3 separate regions of the Homo sapiens genome follow, and all the other regions are linked to region 1. Evidence: promoter capture Hi-C in human tissues and cell types (Jung and others, 2019). All regions are on one chromosome and are shown on one strand. The core of a region is centred on a gene start or on the middle of the fragment in contact, and the rest is flanking DNA. Distances in the headings are between cores, read along the strand shown. Region 1 holds the start of DNAL4 (dynein axonemal light chain 4). Region 2 overlaps MGAT3 (beta-1,4-mannosyl-glycoprotein 4-beta-N-acetylglucosaminyltransferase). Region 3 overlaps SYNGR1 (synaptogyrin 1).

The links. Contacts are between HindIII fragments. The study calls those that stand out against the background at their distance.
Region 2: a contact is called between a fragment that was not itself captured here and the fragment with the promoter of DNAL4 in region 1, in 1 of the 25 tissues and cell types used here (mesenchymal stem cells).
Region 3: a fragment that was not itself captured here is called in contact with the fragment with the promoter of DNAL4 in region 1 in 4 of the 25 tissues and cell types used here (dorsolateral prefrontal cortex, lymphoblastoid cells, mesenchymal stem cells and 1 more).

Annotation. Positions count from the first base shown.
Region 1 is chr22:38,792,827-38,795,538 of GRCh38, reverse strand. It overlaps DNAL4 (dynein axonemal light chain 4), which reads left to right and starts at 1,396. Exons shown (of 4, transcript NM_005740.3): 1 at 1,396-1,471. RefSeq lists a silencer at 1,205-1,654. The HindIII fragment of the contact is 13,707 bases long and covers 1-2,712 here.
Region 2 is chr22:39,468,555-39,471,266 of GRCh38, reverse strand. All of the region lies in intron 1 of MGAT3 (beta-1,4-mannosyl-glycoprotein 4-beta-N-acetylglucosaminyltransferase), which reads right to left. Among named protein-coding and RNA genes, the nearest start is that of MGAT3-AS1, 6.9 kb to the left of the region's middle. RefSeq lists an enhancer at 180-1,109. The HindIII fragment of the contact is 6,749 bases long and covers 1-2,712 here.
Region 3 is chr22:39,352,794-39,355,505 of GRCh38, reverse strand. All of the region lies in intron 1 of SYNGR1 (synaptogyrin 1), which reads right to left. Among named protein-coding and RNA genes, the nearest start is that of SYNGR1, 4.2 kb to the right of the region's middle. The HindIII fragment of the contact is 5,350 bases long and covers 1-2,712 here.

The DNA of each region.
Region 1 (2,712 bases), core at 147-2,646:
ATATGCTACCCAAGCATTCAGGGATCAGAGGTTTTAAAGATAATTTTGTGGGTAGGGGCTTGGCAAGCGAGGAGTGTTGATTGATTAAGTCGAAGATGGAATACTGAGGGGGTCGAAGTGAGGTTTTCTTGCTGTCTTCTGTTCCTGGGTGGGATCACAGAACTGTTTGAGCCACATTACTGGTCTGGGTGGTGTCAGCTGATCCATCGAGCGCAGGGTCTGCAAAATATCTCAAGCGCTGATCTTAGGTTTTACAATAGTGATGTTATCCCCAGGAGCAATTTGGGAAGGTTCAGACTCTTGCAGCCAGAGGCTGCTGTGTGACCCCTAAACCATAATTTCTAATGTTGTAGCTAATTTGTTAGTCCTACAAAGGCAGACTGGTCCCAAGGCAGGAAGGGAGCCTTTTTGGGAAAGGGCTATTGTCAATTTTGTTTCAGAGTAAAACTATAAACTAAATTCCTTCCCAAGGTTCGTTCAGCCTATGCCTAGGAATGAACAAAGACAGCTTAAAGGCTAGAAAGGCAAGATGGAGTGGGTTAGGTCTGATCTCTTTCACTGTCATAATTTCCTCAGTTATAATTTTGGCAAAGACAGCTTCAATGCTAGTAAATGTGGCAGTGGGGTTTCACCCCAAGTACTCATCACAATAATAAAGGTTTAAACTACGAAGTACCCAACTGACCCTTTGATCTACCAATCAAATAATAGAATCCGCCAGTTCTTCCCCTTTCCCCTTTTCCTTCTCCGTACTTTCGGATTAATTTTCCCTCCCAAGGGGAAGAAAAGGCAGGCTCTGGGCAACTGTGTCTGAAATTAGGTGGTACAAATGTCTCCTAGTGACTAGAGCTAGGTGACCATACAAGGGTGTGGCACAGAGGAAGGAGCCCCTGGGTTCCTTCTCCAGGGAGATTACCTCCATCCTTTACCAAGTTACTTAACCTCTCTGAACTTTAGTTCAGATGGGATGACGAATATTATCACCTAAAAGTACTGTAATGAGAATCAAGTGAGATATTAATTGTACAGCCCTACAAAAATGCTAGTTATTATCAGGCTTTTCAGATCCCAATAAAGTAGTGGCTAAGTGTCACGACACCAACAAGTTGCATTTGTTATTTCAAGTGACTAAAAGAACCTCCCAAGGCAGTACTGCTTTTCGAAGTTTGTTTCCCTAGAAAAAGAACTTCAATGTGTCCCCTGCTCCTCGGGCACGCTTAAGACAACTATAAGTGAAGTCCCGCCTCCCTGGCCTCTAAACCACGCCCCTGTCCTTGCAAACGCCTGACTTATAAGGGCCTTTCACTCTGATTGATACTTTTATCCACCAATAATAAGTGAAATTCTCGTCAACGTCCGGTGAGGGGGCAGGACTTCCTTGCTGGTTGCTAAGACACTCTTGTTTCGCTCCTTGACAACCCTGGCGGGGGTTCGCTGGCTGCGGCCCCGGCTCCGGCCCCCGCAGGAGCAGGTGAGGCCCCGGGGCGCGGCGGGCAGCCAGGCGGGGAGGGCCGGCCCGGAGGGAGGGCGGGAGGCAACGCAGGGCGGAAGAGGCCTCGCCCGCCGCCGAGGCCCCACCTCGGTCTCCTGCCTGCTGTTCCCCTGCCCCAGGTCTTCCCATCCTCAACCCCCACCCTCACCCCCACTTCGGGACCTGCGAGCTCTGTCGTGACAGGTTTGCCATCGCGACTCTGCCGGCTGCTCTTCCCCACCCACCCAAGGCCTGCCCAGCTTCGTGGTCCCGCGTCCCCCTTTAGCCGACTTCCCCCAGCACCTTGATCCCTCGACCTTTCGCGGAGTAATTCCCTCTCCCGCGGGGTCGCCATCAACTAGGTCAGACCGCTCTTGGCTTGGAGAGTTGGCGACTTACTGGGATTCTGGGCTGGTCATTTCCCCTGTTTGGGCCTCAGTTTCCCCATCTGTAAATGAGAAGTTGAGTTGAGTGATCTCTAAGGCCTCTTCCACTCTGACGTTCTAGGATGTCGTTGTTCTTTGACCCAACTTTAGGCTTCCGAGAGGATGTGCTCCCCAATGGGAGGTATCGTGTATTGTGAAAATAACTTGGCAAACCTAATTTGGATTCCCAGTCTCAAGACCTACCCTCCCTGCGCTTTTAATCAGTGCATATGTAAAATCAGTATACGTCGGTGCATCTCCTTTGGTAATTCTGAGGCTAATATGAAGTACAGAGTCCAGTCCAGTATAGATTCAGTATTTGTTAGTTTCTTTCCTTTGTCTCTTCACCACATTTTCCCTCTCTGGGAAATGTTATCAACCCGGTCAGCATGAACTGTCATTTCTCCAGTTGACCCTCTCTGATCTTCCTCCTGGGCTTCCATGGTTAGGGTTACTTAGGGGTGGGGAGGGGACAGATGGAGATTGAAATACAGTCATGTACCATATAACAACGTTTTGGTCAAGAAAGACCACAGATACCACGGTGGTGCCCTAAGGTTATAATGGAGCTGACAAATTTCTATCACCTAGTTACATAGCTATCGTAATGTCAAAGCAAAATGCATGACTCACGTGTGTGGTGATGCTGGTGTAAGCAAACCTACAGTGCTGCCAGTCATATAAAATATAGCACATACAATTGTGTACAGGACATCATACTTGATAATGGTAATAAATGACTGTTACTTGTTTATGTGTTTACTATCCTACACTTTTATTGTTATTTTACAGTGTACACTCCTCCTACTTATAAGA
Region 2 (2,712 bases), core at 91-2,590, 680 kb before region 1:
GCCCACTCAGCCTTACAGGCCCGAACAAACTGCCCCAGACCATCTGGACAAGAGAAGGGAAGGAGCCAGCTCTGCCCTGCCCTGGCTTCCAAGGTCAGAATGCCCCTGCCCCCACCCCCAGGGCTCCCAGAGATGTGGTGCCTCCCAGGCAGAGGGGCAGCCAGAGCCTTTGGTCTGAGTGGGGGTGGCCATCGTCAGATAACAAAGGAGGCCCAGGAAAAGCCGGGCAGGAGGGGGCTGGGCTGAGTGCTTCTGCCTCTGTGAGAGGGCTCTCCTGGACCCTGGGCTGTCCTGGGTGCCCACCCCCAATCTCTCAGGAGTCAGCGTGGGGCGAGGGCTGCTTTGGGGCCATAGCTCTCTGGAGTCTAGACTCAAAAGGGGCTGGATTCAAATCCTGCCCTTTCCAAACCCTCCTCCGTGATCTTGGGCAGGTCACTGAATACCCTGGGCCTCGGTGCCTCTATCAGCAATGTGAGGCCATCCCAACCCCGAGGGGATTAAAACGGATAACATCCAGAGTCTTGACACAGGCCAGTCCTCTGAGCTGGGTGCGGCCTCACCACATGCCCGGCAGAGGGGCAGGAAAGCCTGCAGGCCCCGTTCCCCCAAATGCTCCCAGGATGGACCTCTCTCTGCCTCCTCTGCCACCCCGAGGTCCTCACTAGCTTCCCTCCTGCCTCTGCAGCAGCCAGAGTCACCGCAAATTCCCCATCAGGCCACATCTCCCTGCTCAAGCCCTCCCATGGCCCTGTCACACTAAGAATTAAAACCCCAACTCCTCTGCGTGCCATGGACCCTGGCCATCTGATGCCTGCGTTTCTGCTGACCTTGCCTCCCTTGTCCCCCAGGCTCCAGCCACACTCCCCACCTTCCTGTCTCCTACACTCTTCAGGCATGGCCCCATTCCAGGGTCCTCGCACTGGCTGATCCCTCCGCCTGGAACGCCCTTCCTCAGGTCCCTGCATGCTCTGATGCCACTCGTCAGACAGGGGCCCCTGAGCAGCTGGCTGAAGTGCTGCCCCCGCCCGCAAGCCCTCTCTCCAGGCTGTCCCCCCAGCGCTCATCCCTGCAGAGGCGATCCCACTTTGTTGTTTACGTCTGCCCCGCCCTCACCCTGCTGGCGAGGCCACAGGAGAGCAGGGTCACCACAGGCCTCGGTCGCCACTGTTCCCCACCCCCCAGGACAAAGTCAGCCCTGGAGCATGCACTGCAGGGACAGCTGCTGGATGACATGGAACAGTCCAAAGACACAGGAGCCCAGATGAGAAGCAGCAACAGACTTGGAGGGACAAATATCCTCCGGTTTGGGGGTGCAGGCCCAGCCTGCAAGTTCCCACACCTGACAGGCGCTCCTCCCCTGCCCTGTGGCCCCAGAGAAAGCCCCTGCTCTGCTGAGTTCAGCGCCGCCCTGCCCTGCAGCCCCGGCAGTGCCAGCCCCTCCCGCCCAGGCTCGCCATCCTCTGGTGACAACGTACAAAGGGCCACTTCAGTACACAGCCTCAGCTCTATCTCCAGCCTGGCGGGCTGAGCGGAGCGGGGGTACGGGGAAATGGAAGGGAGGGTGCTCCCCGCCCTTCCCCATCCTTTGGGGTCTTCTCTAGCATTGGGGACTTTGTCCCAGGCATTGTGCCCCGGGTGGCAGTGGAGGGGTTGTTGGCTGGCAGAGGCTCTCATGCACCAGGTGGCAGGTGGAGGTCTGGTCCAAGAGTCCTAGGCAGTGGGGAGCGGATGCTGTTCCCCCGGCACCTACCCATGTGTACAGGGCAGCAGGTGGTGGGCACACTTGCATGCTCAGGTGGCCCAGTGCCAGACGGAGTGAGGGACAGCGAGGTGCAGACCTGGCAGGAATGATCTGGGCTGGGCAGCAAGGAGGGCAGTGGGCATGGGCTTTGGGTCACACCAGGCCTGGCTTTCTGGCCTGAGACCCTCTGTGGCAAACGAGGTGAAACTCAAATCGCTGTCCCAACAACCTGAGCTAGTAACCTGTGACTCAAGCCTGGCACCAAGGGACTGACGCTCCGATGACGTTCCCAACACTCCCCCTTCTGGGCCCCTCCCCACCCATCACCAAGGCTTGTCCGTCCCACTGCCCGCACTTCCCAAATCTGGGCCCCTCCCCACCCACCTGCCCCCTTCTGGGCCCCTCCCCACACCACCAAGGCAGTCAGTCCCACTGCCCGCACTTCCCAAATCTCCCAACCCCAAGCCTACCGCTCACCGGAATGGCAGCAGCTTCCTCAATGGGCCCCCAACCCGGCCCCCATGAGCCAAGCGAAAGCCACATCTGATGCTGCCCCTCCCAGCTTGGAACCGCTGCCCTCAGGAGAAAGTCCAAGTCCCTCAAGGAGGCACAGAAGTTTCTGTGTAATCTCACCCTTCAATCTCCGTGCCTGTTCCTGGAGGATTCGGCTGAGCTGCACTTCTCCAGGCCTCCCTGACCCCAGCCTACTCCCCAGAACCCCTTGTCCCACACAAGGGCTGTGCTGTCTGATGCCCCTGGGTCCCCAGCCTCAAGCACTGAGCCCCACACAAAAAAGGTGCTCACCCTGAGTTTGTTGAATGAATAAATGACCACGCCAAATCCACACACCCGCACCTTCCAGTCAATGCTGCAGGGCTCTCAGGCCTGTCTGGGGCTCACACAAGTGGCCCATGGTCCTAGTCCTGCCTGCTTTGCCAACTTGGGCTTGTCACACCCCAATGAGGCAGCTT
Region 3 (2,712 bases), core at 88-2,587, 560 kb before region 1:
GTCTCCTTGCAGCTGACCCTGTCCTAGACCTGAGAGAGAAGAAGCGGCGGAGCGGCCGGCCACAGGAGGTGAAGAGGTGAGAAAGACTCCAGGGTGGTCAGCAATAAATAACAAACAAGGGCCGTGGGCCCACCTTCCTGTCTAGGTGACAGGGCTGTGCCCGGTACTGGGAGAGGACAGGCTGGACGTGACCACGCATTTCCAGCCACAGAGCCCTCTCCAAACCAAGCTTCCACAGGAGCTTCCGAAATACCCTTGACCCTCTCTCCAGCTTCCCACTGCCCTCAGAGGAAGTCCAGCTTGTGAGTCTGTCATCCAAGCCTCTCCTGGGCCACCCCTTGGGAATTCCTTCTTGTAGTGACCCGAGCCTCTGGGACAGTGCTTCCCACTCAATCCTGTTCTCGTTATTGGAGCGAGAGTGCCTTGGGGTGGCACTGAGCACTCAGCTGGCACTGAGCAGGGGACTTGTGGAATGAACAAATGAACATCAGAACTGGCCAGAGGTTCTGTCTCTACCCTGGACCCTCTTCCCCAACAACCGCTGGTCCCAGAATTTTCCTGTGGCCCCATGGCTGGCACATGGCAAGTTGGTTGGGGGAGGCAAGGGGTCTTATCTTGAAACTGCTGTGTTTACAAAAAACGTTCAGCTTTTTTTTTTTTTTATTTGAGACAGAGTTTTGCTTTTGTTGCCCAGGCTGGAGTGCAGTGGTGTGATCTCAGCTAACTGCAACCTCCGCCTCCCGGGTTCAAGCGATTCTCCTGCCTCAGCCTCCTGAGTAGCTGGGATAACAGGCGACCGCCACCACGCTCAGCTAATTTTTGTATTTTAGTAGAGATGGGGTTTCACCATGTTGGCCAGGATGGTCTCGAACTCCTGACCTCAAGTGATCCACCCGCCTTGGCCTCCCAAAGTGCTGGGATTATAGGCGTGAGCCACCTCACCTGGCCAAGTTCAGCTTTTTTATTCAGTGTTCACTTGGGATGATGGGGGGTGGAGTGGAGGGGGTGAATAAAACCAGGGGTATGAAGCTGCCCCCCTCAGGCCACCCCTTGGTGCCATGGATATCCAGGCAGAGAACCCACAGGGAGTACACAGAATGTGGAGCCCAGCAGTCCGGGTTCAAACCAAGTCTCTGACAAGCCCAGGCCTTGAGCTAGCACAAGTCACTTCTCCAGGCTGAGCCTTAATTCTGTCATTTGTAAAACGGGGGGAAGATACCCACCCCACTTACAGAACCATGTGGTATTATGGCCAAAGCCCTTAAAAAATGAACCCTGAAAATGGCAACATTTCAAACATTTTATCATTTTCATTTTGTCAAAGTAGAGAATTAAAGAAACATTGACTGGGCACGGTGGCTCACACCTGTAATCCCAGCACTTTGGGAGGCTGAGGCGGGTGGATCACTAGGTCAGGAGTTTGAGACCAGCCTGGCCAAGATGGTGAAACCCCGTCTCTACTAAAAATTTAAAAAGTAGCTGGGCATGGTGGTGGGTGCCTGTAATCCCAGCTATTTGGGAGGCTGAGGCAGGAGAATCACTTGAAACCAGGAGGCAGAGGTTGCAGTGAGCCAAGATCGCGCCACTGCACTCTAGCCTGGAGACAGAGCGAGACTCCATCTCAAAAACAAAAAACAAACAAACAAAAAACTCATCTGCCAGCACTGATATTCATTCCCTATAGTCCATCTTAGCCCCCTGCAAAAAAGAATATAAACTCCAAATAAAAGGTGGTCCTTTCTATTAAATCAGTTTAGCTTCTTGCTGTAACTCCTTTTTTTCCCATCTGGCTTTAGAACAAAGAAATGAGTCACTGACAGGCGGCAGTCACCGCGCAACAGATCAGGCACTTCTGACCCAGCCCAGCCCAGTTCGGGTGGGAAGACTGAGGCACAGAGGGTGGGGAGGGGACACTTACTGAAGGTCACAGCTGTGGCCTGGGGGTGCCAGGAGTGGCAGCTGATCTGCCACTGGGGCGATGACACCAAGAGGTGAGAAAGCCTTAGTCAAGAGACAAGCCATGCCGGATGCAGTGGCCCACGCCTCGCCTCATCGTCCCAGCTGCTCACAAGGCTGAGGTGGGAGGATCACTTGAGTCCAGGAGTCTGAGACCAGCCTGGGCAACACAGCAAGATCCTGTCTCTAAAAAAATAAAAAAGAGACAAGCCAGGTCTTGGAGGCCCTGCTTCTGTGCAGGCTGACCCAGGGGCTCAGAGGGCTTGGGTTCCAGGGTGGGTCCAGGTTGGTGAGGCCCTGAAGCTTACATGATTTGGGGGCCCTCTTTTGGAAAAGCAACAGAAAAAAAAATCTTTCTTTTACAAATTTTACAAAAATCCCAGGTCCAGGCCGGGTGCGGTGGCTCACGCCTGTAATCCCAGCACGTTGGGAGGCCAAGGCAGGTGGATCACCTGAGGTCAGGAGTTCGAGACCAGCCTGGCTAACATGGTGAAACCCCATCTCTACTAAAAATACAAAAATTAGCTGGGCGTGGTGGTGTGTGCCTGTAGTCCCAGCTACTTGGGAGGCCGAGGCAGTAGAGTTGCTTGAACCTGGGAGGCGGAGGTTGCAATGAGCCGAGATGGCACCATTGTACTCCAGCCTGGGCAACAGAGCAAGACTCCATCTCAAAAAAAGAAAAAAAACAATCACAGGTTCATGTGCACATGCTGTTAGGGCCCCTCCAGGGCTGTGGTAGGGGTCTGGGTTGTCCAG